Regions from separate parts of the Homo sapiens genome. Here regions 1 and 3 are each linked to region 2. The links are contacts of gene promoters, found by promoter capture Hi-C in blood cells and fetal thymus (Javierre and others, 2016). All regions are on one chromosome and are shown on one strand. The core of a region is centred on a gene start or on the middle of the fragment in contact, and the rest is flanking DNA. Distances in the headings are between cores, read along the strand shown.

Region 1 (4,497 bases), core at 887-3,386, 150 kb after region 2:
CGTCAGCTTACGAAGATAACAGGATTAAGAGATTAAAGTAAAGACAGGCATGAGAAATTATAAGTGTTAATTTCGGGAACTGATAAATGTCCGTGAAATCTTCACAGCTTATGTTCAGAGATTGCAGTAAAGACAGGCGTAAGAAATTATAAAAGTATTAATTTTGGGAACCGATACATGTCCATATTAAAATGAAATCTTCACAATTTATGTTCCTCTGACACAGCTCCAGCTGGTCCCTCTGTTCAGGGTCCCTGACTTCCCGCAACAGCATCCAGCCTGGCGACATAGAGAGACTCCGTCTCAAAAAAAAAAAAAAAAATTTAGCTAGGCATGTGGCACACACCTGTGGTCCCAGCTACTCAGGAGGCTGAGGCAGGAGGATCACTTGAGCCTGGGAGATGGAGGGTGCAGTGAGCCAAGATCACGGCACTGCACTCCAGCCTGGGTGACAGAGCATGACCCTGTCTCAAAAAAAATTATAATTAATAGTTTAACTTAGTATAATTACTAAGTGTGTCACTAGCAAGAACATCATTTAATGAAACAACTACTGCATTAAACTCAATTGGTGAAAAATAAATTTCCTTGGGAATGAGATTCAGTCTTGATTATTTCATCAGACAGAAAACACCACCCTGCCAACTACTTTTTTCAGAGCCCCTTTCAAGTACCTGTTCCTCAGGCTGTAGATGAAAGGGTTTAGCATGGGAGTCACTACTGTATACAACACAGTAGCCATAGTGTCTTTCTCAGCTGAGTGGGAGGACAGAGGGTTAAAATACACAGCAATGATGGTGCTGTAGAAGAGGAGAACCACAGCCAGGTGAGAACCACAGGTGGAGAAGGCTTTCCACCTTCCCTTTGTGGATGGGACCTTCAGGACAGTGCAGGTGATGTGCATATAAGAAGCCAGGATGCAAAGAAATGGGGTGATCATGACCAGGGCACCCTCACTAAGGATTATGACCTCATTGAGGTGTGTGTCTGAGCAGGAGAGTTTCAGTAGGGGAGTCACATCGCAGAAGAAGTGAGTGATGGCATTGTCTGCACAGAATGAGAGTGGAGCCATCAGCAGGGTGTGCAGAAGGACATTCAGGTTGGCAACCACCCATAATCCAGCAACCAGCAGGGCACAGAGCTGATGGGTCATCTTTGCTGTGTAATGTAAGGGGTGGCACACGGCGACAAAGTGGTCATAGGCCATCACAGCTAGGAGGAAATTGTCCATGTCCACGAACATGAAAACGAAATACATCTGTGTGAGACAGCCACAGAAGGAGATGGTCTGAGTCTCGAGTATGTGATTGGCCAGCATCTTGGGGACGGTGGTGAAGGAGAAGCAGATGTCCACAAAAGACAGGTTGCTGAGGAAGAAGTACATGGGGGTGTGCAGGCAGGAGTCTATGCTTACGGACAGGATGATGAGCAGGTTCCCCAGGACAGTGGCCAGGTACATGCTGAGGAAGAACACAAAGAGGAGATGCTGCTGCTGGGGCTGCCTGGAGAGTCCCAGGAGGAGGAACTCGGAGACACTCGACTGGTTTGTCCCGCTCATGGGCCTGGGATCCTGGACACAGAGGCAGACAAAGAAGACGAAATGCAAAAGCTTGGAAAATGCTGGTTAAGATGGGGCACAGGAATGGCAGTAGAATTTTGCTTGCAGGATGTAAATGATAATATTGTCAACCCTGCTGGGGCTGCTACTGCTATGTTCAGGGCTCAGGTTTACAGAAGTCTGAGCCAGGCCTTCTTGGCTATATCCACGGAGCACCCTGAGTCCAATTTGTAAAATTAAAATGGAACAACCCAGAGGTCTGGGCAGAAACTCAGTCAGTTTGTGTTCCCCACAGTTCAGGATGTCAGACAGACGGGACAGAGGCTGGTCCTGACTGGGTGATTGCAAGGGACTGCTGCTGAGCTCAGGACTGTTTTTCTGGCTCCACATAATTGAAAGGAAGGAGGGTCCCTCTGAGGCTTTAAGTCCTGACAAGCAGTTATCAGTGAAGTCCCACTGATGTGACTCTTTTTATTTCTTTTTTTAAACGGAGTCTCGCTCTGTCGCCAGGCTAGAGTGCAGTGGCGAGATCTTGGCTCGCTGCAACCTTCAGCTCCCTAGTTCAAGTGATTCTCCTGCTTCAGCCTCCCAAGTAGCTGGGATTATAGGCACGTGCCACCACGCCCAGCTAATTTTTGTATTTTTAGTAGAGACGGGGTTTCACCATGTTGGCCATGATGGTCTCTATCTCTTGACCTCGTGATCCGCCCGCCTTGGCCTCCCAAGGTGCTGGGATTACAGGCGTGAGCCACCACACCTGGCCAATGATCTGACTCTTACCCAGAAAGAGCAGCAGTCCTCACTGTCTCCTGAAGTCCTGGGTTGGCTTCCCTTTTTCAGACCTGGCCAGAGGTTATTGGTCTGAGGGAGGGTGACTCGTCACTGGAGCTTTGAGGCTGAGTATCTCATGAATCAGGAGCTGGGCTGCACAGACTCAGCCCTTGATGCAGGAAGGATGTTTGGAAGAATCACAGGGCAAGCTCTTCACAGGAGCCTCCATGGCCACTAGGGTCATATTCCCTGAGAGCCTCATTGAGAAAAGCAGAGAGTAATTGTCCCTTCCCCTCCTTGGCTCTTTTGTGTCCGACACTGACGATAAAGCTTTGTCATACATAATTCCTGCCTCAGCACTTGGCAACACTGAAAGTGATGCAATCTAAGGGGTAATCATTGGCAACAATCCTTCTGCTAGAGGAAACTCACGACCCTGTATTTTATCCCCCACCCAGCTGGGATGCTGATCTTGTTGGGAGATACCTGTGAAGCTGTACTGGGATTAAGAAGATAACCTTTGGATTTTCACAGACCAGCACTCAATTTCCAGATCCACCATTACCAGTTGTATAGCCTTAGAAAAGCTAGTAACCTCCACTGAATCACCAGCTCCCATCATCTATAGAGTGGAGAAATAATATTCACCTTGTAGGGTTGTAATAACTAAACTAGGTAATTTATGTTAAATATCTCGTGACTCTTAACCTCATCAATGCACTGGGCTAAGACCATGTCCACTAGGTGAAGGCTGAAGATATTAAATTGTTATTATTATTATTATTATTATTATTATTATTATTATTATTATTATTTTGAGATGGAATTTCATTCTTGTTGCCCAGGCAAGGTACTACAGGCGTGCACTACCATGCCCACCAGGCTGGGCAACAGAGCGAGAATTCGTCTTAAAAACAAACAAACAACAAGAACAACAAACAACCCATAAAGCTAATTACGAAAGATCTGGGGAGGAGGAGGAGAATGGACACTGAATTAGCAAAGACATTATTTGCAAGCGATAGAAAACCAACTCATATCAGCCTAGGGAGAAATGACAGGTTAATGTCATTACAAAATCCAAGGTGTCTTCTTGCAAAGCCTTTGTGTTTCAGGCCAGACCAAATTCAGGGAGCTGAATGATAACATCAAGACCCTGTATTTCTCTATCTCACTACTGCATTGGCTTCTGCTCAGCTTCATTCTGCAGATTACCTCTCCTCATGTGGCAGCAAGATGTCCAACAGTGGCTCCAAATTCACATCCTTCCAGACTAGCAGCCACAGGGCACATGAAACTTCCCTCTACCAATGTTTATTTATTAATAACATTGTACTGATGCAGGACAAGCGAGCCCCAAAGTGAGGCCTAGTCTGCAAGGGTTCTTGGCTTTGCCCAGGAAAGAATACAAGGGCGAGCCAGTGGTAGAAGAAAACAGCTTTACTAAAGCAGCAGGCAGTGTTACAGCTGCCTGACTGCTCCTGCAGAGGAGGGCTCCCCCATAGGCAGTGTGCTGAGAGTAACAGCTCTAGGGAGTTTTGCAGCCATATTTATACCCATTTTTAAGTACATGTAGAATAAGGTGCAGTTTATGCAGAAATTTCTAGGGAAGGGGTAGTAACGTTTGGGTCACTGAGTCATTGCCATGGAAAGGGGCAGTGACGCCTGGGTGTCACTGGTGGGTATGTCTTATGGAAAGCTGCTTCCGCCCCATCTCTTTTAGCTAATCCTCAATTTGGTCCAGTGTCCGAGCCCTGCTTCCTACCTCAACTCCAGGTAAGGTTGTGATCATCCCTTCGTGGGTCATGTGTCCAAACCTGAACAAACCATTCTGCATGGAAGAACAGAGTACTCTCATCATTCTGGATCATCAGCTCAATCCATTCCATGCGGGAATCCAGTGATGGACATTGTCACCAGGACTAAATGGAGGAGGATAGGAATTCCCCTTTTCCTCCACGTATTTGGCAATAATTAAACAAGCAGACAAAAATGACAAGTGTTGGCAAGGATGTAGAGAAACTAGAGCTCTACATTGCTGGTGAGAAGGTAAAATGATGCAGCTGCTGGGGAAAACAGTTGGGTTGTTCCCCCAGGAGCTAAACATACAATTACCATACAATCCAGCAATTCCATTCCTAGGTTTGTACCCAAAAGAATTGAAAACA
Region 2 (4,462 bases), core at 390-2,889:
GGTGTGGTAGCATGTGCCTATAGTCCCAGCTACTCAGAAGACTGAAGGATTGCTTGAGCCCAGGAGTTGAAGGCTGCAGTGAGCTAAGATCATGCCACTCTACTTCAGCCTGGGCAACAGAGCAAGACTCCAACTCTTAAAAAAAATGAAGAAGAGACAAAAAGAGGTAGGCAAAGATAATGACAGATAGGGTAAAAACATGAATTGTTTGGGTCTTCATATGAAGTTAATAATACATGGCTTGATTTTATGGAATTATAGTAACATTATGTAAGATACTGCAAGTGGAGGTGCTTTGCTTAGAAAAGTACAGAATTCTGCAGAAATATAAGGCATATTAAATAACATGTGGGCAACAGAGACAGAGACAGTGAGACAGGTCTGTCACAGGTCAATAACCTCTGAGCCCTCAACAACATGTCTCCCCTGCTATCGGTAGTCCACAGTAGGATTTTTGGTAAATAAGTGTAGAACATTACGAATAACACTAACCATGTTCCCAACAGCTTAGGGCTGTCAGCTTAGGGCTGTCAGGAACATGCCTTGGTTTTACCGGAATTAGTATTCCTCATGTTCACCTGGCCAGAGAGAGTTAATGAGAAACGCATGTAGAGATGAAGACGCAATAAATAACGAAGGAGTGTTCTCTCAGCCAACTTCTCTTCCTTTCCCCAGCAACCTCCTCAGTGCGCCCTTCACTTCCATGTTCCGCAGCGTGTAGATGAGGGGATTCACCATGGGTGTGACCAACGAGTAGAACAGGGAAATGAACTTGCCCTGGTCCTGTTTGCTGTTCTTGGCCGGAAGCAGATACCCATAGCTGGCTGAGCCATAGAAGAGGAACACCACCAGCAGATGGGAGAGGCACGTATTGAACGCCTTTCGCCTCCCCTCTGCAGAGCGGATTTTCAGCACTGCCTGAGCAATGAGGCAGTAGGAGATCACGATGATGCTTAGTGGGACTGCAGTGAAGAAGGTGCAGACACCATTGAGCACAGCCTGGTTGAGACTTGTGTCGCCACAGGCCAGTTTGATCATGGCAGGCACCTCGCAGAGGAATCCCTCCACCCTCCGGTGCCCACACAATGGGAGCTGCAGAGTGAATGTTGACTGGATCACAGAGTTGCCCAAGCCACCCAGGCAGGCAATCACAGCCAGCAGCCAGCAGAGCTGGGGGTTCATGATGGCGGTGTAGCGGAGGGGCCGGCACACTGCCACGTAGCGGTCAAATGCCATCACCACCAGCAGGATGCACTCGGTGGCCCCCAGCCAAAGGAAGACATAGAGCTGGGTTATGCAGCCACCATAGCTGATGGTCTTGCCTGGTCCCCATAAATTGATCAGCATTTGGGGGACTGAACTAGTAGCGAAAGCAAGGTCCAAGGAGGAGAGGTTGCTGAGGAAGAAGTACATGGGTGTATGGAGCCGGGCCTCCAGGCGGGAAAGCAAGATGATGGTTGAGTTCCCAAGTAGGGTCAGCAAATAGGAGAAGAGGATGGCTATAAAAAAGATCATCTCCAGCTGGGGATGGTCTGATATGCCCATCAGAACAAAGCCCTGCAAGGAGCTATCATTCACCCCGTCCATCACTGGTTGTCTTCAGTCACTTGATGAATTCATTTAGCGCAAGCTGCTGGAAGAAAAGTCAAGAAAAAGCTGTTGGATGAGGTGGATTTGCATCAGGAACGGTCTAATAGTTCTCTGGGATCCATAGTTAAGTAACAACCTATTTTTTGTTTGTTTTTTGAGACAGAGTCTCTCACTGTCACCCAGGTTGGAGTGCAGTGGCACAATCTCAGCTCACTGCAACCTCCTTCTCCCTGGCTCAAGCAATCCTCTTGTCTCAGCCTCCCAAGTAACTGTGACCACAGGTGTGTGCCACCACATCCAAATAACTTTTGTATTTTTTGTAGAGATGGGGTTTTGCCATGTTGCCCAGGGTTGTCTCCAACTCTTGGGCTCAAGTGATCCATCTGCCTCAGCCTCCCAAAGTGCTGGGATTACAGGCATGAACCACTGCACCTGGACTCCAACTTACTTTTTAAGATTGCAAGCTTTTTTTTTTTTTTTGAGACAGAGTCTCGCTCTGTCACCCAGGCTGGAGTGCAGTGGTGCAATCTCGGCTCATTGCAACTTCCGCCTCCCAGGTGCAAGCAATTCTCCTGCCTCAGCCTCACGAGTAGCTGGGACTACAGGCATGCACCACCATGCCTGGCTAATTTTTGTTTTAGTAGAGACGGGGTTTCACCATGTTGGCCAGGCTGGTCTCGAACTCCTGACCTCGTGATATGCCAGCCTCAGCCTCTCAAAAAGCTGGGATTACAGGTGTGAGCCACCGTGCGTGGCCTAGATTTCAAACTTCTGTTGTAATCCCCATCTACTGTTGGTTACACACCGAATGGAAAAGTTGATTCCATCAGAATGTCAGGTATGAGCTAACACGGAAATGAAGGAAGTGCCTCATGATGACAAAACCAAAAGACCCCAAGAACTGAAGAGCCCTTCAGTTCAGAACAATGGCTATGACGGGATAGAGAGAGTTGACCATTAGAATTAGATGTGAAAGTTCTCAAAAACTTTCAGTCAGACTGAAATTTCAGTCAGGCATGGTGGCTCACACCTGTAATCCCAGCATTTTAAGAGGCTGAGGTGGGAGGATCTCTTGAGCCCCAGTGTTCAAGGCAGCAGTGAGCCCCTGTACTCCAATGCCTGAGTGACAGAGGGAGACCCTATCTCTTGAAAACAACAGCAACAACACATTTCCCCAGCCAAGATTCTGATACGCTCAGGGAAGGGGGGAAGCAGACACATTGTATTTGGAAAAGCTCCCCAGAATTTTCTGTTAAATTTCCTCTGCTCTCTTCTACATCCCTCCCCTCTGAGTTTTACCTCAGTGCTGGATCTAGAAAGATGATGTTTGAGGAATAACATGATGAATCTATAAAGTCACAGAAATAATGGAAAGAGTAGATACAGACTTATGCTCCAAATACAGAAGCTGGGAATGTACAATTTAAGAGGAGGTCAATGTAGAGCAAACAAAACTTCACTTAAGCTTAAATAAGTTTAGGTGGAAAAGGCAAAAGATATAAACAGAGGTTACACAAAAAGGGGTTAAAATAGTTAATGGGTATTCATAATTAGTAAGGGAAATTAGAAGATTTACAGAGGAGATCCCTCTTTTGAGGTATATAACTACTGTGTCCACGTCTAAATCATCAAATAATTCTTAACATCTCATGAGACCGGGTACAGTGGCTCACGCCTGTAATCCCAACACTTTGGGAGGTCAAAGTGGGCAGATCACTTGAGGCCAAGAGTTTGAGATCAGCCTGGCCAACATGGTGAAACCCCGTCTCTACTAATAATACAAAAAATTTGTCGGGCATGGTGGCGGGCGCCTGCAGCCCCAGCTACTCAGGAGGCTGAGGCAGCAGAAACACTTGAAACAGGGAGGCGGAAGTTGCAGTGAGTTGAGATTGCACTACTACACTTCAGCCTGGGCAACAGAGCTAGACTCTGTCTCAAAAAAAAAAAAAAAAAAGAAAAGAAAAGAAAAACAAACAAACAAACAAAAAACCCATCTCATGAACAAAAAAATCAGCTCTTGTTAATAATGGGCCAATCACCATCCCCTTTCCTTGGCCAGGATCTCAACTTTTCTGAAGATCATAAACCACAGCCCTTCCCCTTCCTTCCTTCCTTCCTTCCTTCTTTCTCTTTTTTTGAGATGGAGTCTAGCAGTGTCACCCAGGCTGGAGTGCAGTGGCGTGATCTCAGCTCACTGCAACCTCTGCCTCCCAGGTTCAAGCGATTCTCCTGCCTCAGCCAACCAAGTAGCTGGGATTACAGGAGTGCACCACCACGCCTGACTAATTTTTGTATTTTTAGTAGAGGCGGGGTTTCACCATGTTGGCCAGGCTGGTCTTGAACTCCTGGCCTCAGGTTATCTGCCTACCTTGGCCTCCCAAAGTGTTGGGATTACAAGCATGAGCTACCATTCCCGGCCTACTTATTCTTTTTTTTTTTTTTTTTTTTGAGACGGAGTCTCGCTCTGTCACCAGGCTGGAGTGCAGTGGCGGGATCTCGGCTCACTGCAACCTCCACCTCCTGAGTTCAAGCAATTCTCCTGCCTCAGCCTCTCAAGTAGCTGGGACTACAGGTGCACACCACCATCCCCAGCTCATTTTTGTGTTTTTAGTAGAGATGGGGTTTTGACCATGTTGGCCAGGATGGTTTCGATCTCTTGACCTCGTGATCTGCCCGCCTCAGCCTCCCAAAGTGCTGGGATTACAGGCGTGAGCCACCGCGACCGGCCTACTTATTCTTTTCATCTAGGACTTAAGAGAGCTGAGGAACTGAGTTACTAACCGGATAATCAGCTCATCTTTCTTTTCAGAAGTTCTTCCTGAAACCCATTCTACTACCTCCTGCCAGTTCAGGTGCTTGTTCCCTTGTGTCC
Region 3 (4,343 bases), core at 1,312-3,811, 130 kb after region 2:
AGAAAAAGTCCACATGGATCAAAGATTTTAAATGTTTAAAACAAATATAAAAAGCACATTTAGAAAATATGAGTGATTCCTTTATAACCATGGGATAGGAAGGTTTTTGTAATTAAGACTCAAAAGCCCAGAAGCCTTGAAAGAAAAGATTGACAGATTCAAATACGTACAAAAGGCTGGGGCATGGTGGCTCACGCCTGTAATCCCAGCACTTTGGGAGGCCGAGGCAGGTGGATCACCTGAGGTCAGGAGTTTTGAGACCAGCCTGGCCAACATGGCAAAACCCCATTTTTACTAAAAATACAAAAATTAGCTGGATGTGGTGGGGCATGCCTATAATCCCAGCTACTCGGGAGGCTGAGGAAGGAGAATCACTTGAACCCAGGAGGTGGAGGTTGCAGTGAGCCGAGATCACGCCACTGCACTCCAGCCTGCGTGACAGGAGCAAAAAGAAGTGCAAATTAAGCCTCTAGTGAATTAACATTTTGCGTATTTCATATTTATAGAAATAAAAACACATTGATGGTGAGGTTGTTGAGAAACAGGTATATTGCTGGTGGGCATATAAAATGGTATAGTCCCTGTATAAGGGTAATTGCATCTGTAACTACCCATCTTATCCTTTGTTCCAGGAGTTCAATTCTGGAAATCTGACCTACAGATATAGCAACAGAACACATTCGAAATGATGTACAAAGAAGATTATTCACTGTGGTATTGTTTGTAAAAACACAAGGTTGGAAGCAGTCCAAGTGTAGTTAAAGAGGAAGAGTTGAGTTAAAAATTATTTAGACAAGAAATCATTGACAAAGATATACATTTATAAAAGCCTTAACCCAGTAGATTATTTTGCATAATGAAAATCCAAAGTAAAACTACAATGAGAAACTATTTTATACCTATTAAATATTTTAAAATTTAATGCTAACAAGATTAGGTAAAGTTAATATTCACATGAAATTAGTAGAGCTGTTTTTGAAAGCAGAATGGTAGTTCATGTCAAGAGCTATGGTAAAAATTGACATTTCATTATCCTAAGGGAGTGATTAAAAAGAATAATTAGGTCGGGCGCAGTGGCTCATGCCTGTAATCCCAGCACTTTGGGAGGCCTAGGCGGGTGGATCACGAGGTCAGGAGATCATCAAGACCATCCTGGCTAACACGATGAAACCCTCTCTCTACTATAAATACAAAAAATTAGCTGGGCGCGGTGGTGGACGTCTGTAGTCCCAGCTACTGGGGAGGCTCAGGTAGGAGAATGGAGTGAACCCAGGAGGCGGAGCTTGCAGTGAACTGAGATGGTGCCATTGCACTCCAACCTGGGCGACAAAGCGAGACTCCATCTCAAAAAAAAAAAAAAAAAAAGAAAGAAAAAATAATTAAGGCTGGGTGTGGGGGCTTACACCTGTAATCCCCAGCACTTTGGGAAGATTGCTTGAGTACACGAGTGCAAAACCAGCCTAGGCAACATAGCAAGACCCTATCTCTGCCAAAAAAAAAAAAAAGTGAAATAAAAAAAAATCTATTGGTGTGAAACTGCTGAATCCAGCAGAGATTCCAACTCCAGCTTCAGGATCAGCCCCCATGTCTTGGTGGTTGATTTGAACCCTTGACTCTCAGTAGGCCTGAGTTGAGGGGTCCCTTGTCACACAAGTATATCCACAGCATGGTTCTTTTTCACTTTGTTACCCAGTCTTTATAATCTGCTTACACTGACTTTTTTCTGAAGTATAATGGAAATATAGAAAAAGCCTACCAATTGTAAATATATAGCTCAAGTTTTCACAAAATGTACACACTAAGCACCACCCAAAATGGACTTTTCTTAGCATCCCAAAAATCCCTTTTGTGCCCTGTACCCACTCACTACTTCCTTTCCTACACAAAGAGAAACACTACTGACTTCTAATCCCAAAGCTTCATTAGTTGTAGTAATCTCTTTAATTGCCAAATAATAAACTTTTTTCTGTTTTGAGACAGATTCGCTCTTGTTGCCCAGGCTGGAGTGCAATGGCGCGATCTCGGCTCACTGCAACCTCTGCCTTCCGGTTTCAAGTGATTCTCCTGCCTCAGCCTCCCTAGTAGCTGAGATTACAGGCATGTGCCACCATGCCCAGCTTATTTTGTATTTTTAGTAGAGACAGGGTTTCTCCACGATGGTCAGGCTGGTCTTGAACTCCCAGCCTTGGGTGATCTGCTCGCCTTGACCTCCCAAAGTGCTGGGATTACAGGTGTGAGCCACCACGCCTGGCCAATAATAAACTTTTGTATGAATATGCTGTGCCCTCTTTAATTTTGCTTATTGGAATTGTTTCAATTTTCTCATTGTAAGACATTATGATATTATTTAGTGCTATAATAGTGTGATAATATTTAATATAGTGAAAACCTACAAGTGGTTCGTCTTACTATTCAGTTACCAGACTCCTTCAAGATGATGAGTGGTTCCCTGTATAGATGTATAGTCTTCATCCCTAGTCCTTACCTGAGTGCTCTACAGAGTATAAGGTGAATATGAACTTGTCGAGTAATTAACACCTATGAAGAGAACAAACATTTGAAGTCTTTCAGTGAAATCCCACTCATTTTATTTCTTTAAAGTGTGCTTGCATTGTGGTAGATGGAAAGATTTATCAGTTATGTATCCCACCCTCAATAAGTATGGAAAAGGAGTGCGACGGCAGTATCCGCCACTCCCCAGATTGACGTTCAAGGTGGCTGTGGCATAAGAAACCTGACTTGTTTTTTCCTGCCTGGTGTTGTGATATCTCTCAGAAGTTGTTAAATTCTCTCTTTGTTTCAGCAGTCAATGGCAGTAATCCTGAAGGTGAAGATCCTGAGAGGGAACCTGTAGAAAATGAAGATTATAGAGAAAAGTCTTCAGATGATGATGAAATGGATTCTTCCTTGGTCTCTCAGCAGCCTCCCGATAACCAGGAAAAGGAACGACTAAATACATCCATTCCACAAAAAAGGAAAATGAGAAATCTGTTAGTTACCATTGAGAATGATACTCCTCTAGAGGAACTCTCAAAATATGTAGACATCAGTATTATTGCCCTTACTCGAAATCGGAGGACAAGGAGATGGTACACTTGTCCACTGTGTGGGAAACAGTTTAATGAAAGTTCTTACCTCATTTCCCACCAGAGGACCCACACTGGAGAAAAACCCTATGACTGTAATCACTGTGGGAAAAGCTTCAATCATAAAACAAACCTCAATAAACATGAGCGAATTCATACAGGAGAGAAACCTTATTCCTGTTCTCAGTGTGGAAAAAACTTCCGTCAGAATTCTCATCGGAGTCGTCATGAAGGAATCCATATAAGGGAGAAGATATTTAAGTGTCCAGAATGTGGGAAAACCTTCCCAAAGAATGAGGAGTTTGTGCTTCATCTGCAGAGTCATGAGGCTGAGAGACCATATGGTTGCAAAAAATGTGGGAGAAGATTTGGTCGGCTGTCAAACTGTACCCGGCATGAGAAAACCCACTCAGCCTGTAAGACCCGAAAGCAGAAGTAATACTGGGAACCCTTTCTGGGTCTGATGGTGCTGCCTCAACCTGAGAGCTTTCATAAGTAGTTCTGAATTCCCAAGCTGCCTAAAAAGGTATAAATGTGTAAAAATCTCATTATTGCCAAAATTGGATAAATGCCCATCTTAGCTAAAACCTCAAATTGCTAGAAAATTCACAGGGAAGAAAACATTTCAAGGGCTATACCTCAGCATCTAGGCTTTTTGGACTAAGGAGCTTTCCTTTTTGAAGTTATATGATAATGTACAGGTCACAGATCCCCTTTCCCAACACTTTGAAGATGAATCTGGAGTCTGCTTACTTGGAAGGCAAAGAGTGACTTGTGTCTATTGAAAGTATATCCGTTTTCCCCCCACATGGGGATTCATACTTGAGAAATAGTGCAAAGATGCTTATCTGGAACTGTGTTCTGGTGAAAGAACCAAATTACTGGCTTGTTAGCCAACAGCTTCTGATAGCAATTCATATAACCCTCTAAGAATACCTGTTTAAGTCTTGAGTGTTGAAAGGAATTGTTTACTTTGGAATATAGGAAAACAGTTGAATGTCAGACTCTCATTTGTATGTGATCTAAATTTGCAATCAATTTCAATAATATTTACAATTTGTGATAAAACTGACTTTTACAGATTCCTTTTCACAACATAATTTAGGTGTCTACTGTTCTTATTGTATTTTGTTCTGCTGTTGATCTCTCCAGCAGCCGTCTCATGCTTCTCCCTTGCTAAAAGAAGTTTGGATTACTCAGGCAGGGCCATCCAGCCCCACCACTAGAAAAGCTCTTCAGAATCTTGTCCCTCTGTTG

The links. Contacts are between HindIII fragments. The CHiCAGO score rates a contact against its expected background, and 5 or more counts as called.
Region 1: a contact is called between a fragment that was not itself captured here and the fragment with the promoter of OR2C1 in region 2, in 4 of 17 cell types (erythroblasts, M1 macrophages, monocytes and 1 more). The highest score is 8.1, in erythroblasts.
Region 3: a contact is called between a fragment that was not itself captured here and the fragment with the promoter of OR2C1 in region 2, in 3 of 17 cell types (erythroblasts, M1 macrophages and monocytes). The highest score is 5.5, in erythroblasts.

Annotation. Positions count from the first base shown.
Region 1 is chr16:3,201,308-3,205,804 of GRCh38, reverse strand. It overlaps OR1F1 (olfactory receptor family 1 subfamily F member 1), which reads right to left. Exons shown (of 4, transcript NM_001370640.6): 4 at 1-1,570. The coding sequence starts at 1,558. The coding sequence ends at 620. Among named protein-coding and RNA genes, the nearest start is that of TRP-AGG1-1, 12 kb to the right of the region's middle. The HindIII fragment of the contact is 1,050 bases long and covers 1,612-2,661 here.
Region 2 is chr16:3,353,066-3,357,527 of GRCh38, reverse strand. OR2C1 (olfactory receptor family 2 subfamily C member 1) reads right to left here and starts at 1,639. Exons shown (of 1, transcript NM_012368.3): 1 at 222-1,639. The coding sequence starts at 1,587. The coding sequence ends at 649. The HindIII fragment of the contact is 3,889 bases long and covers 1-2,056 here.
Region 3 is chr16:3,223,074-3,227,416 of GRCh38, reverse strand. ZNF200 (zinc finger protein 200) reads left to right here. Exons shown (of 5, transcript NM_198088.3): 5 at 2,804-4,343. The coding sequence ends at 3,525. Among named protein-coding and RNA genes, the nearest start is that of ZNF200, 9.9 kb to the left of the region's middle. The HindIII fragment of the contact is 1,283 bases long and covers 1,920-3,202 here.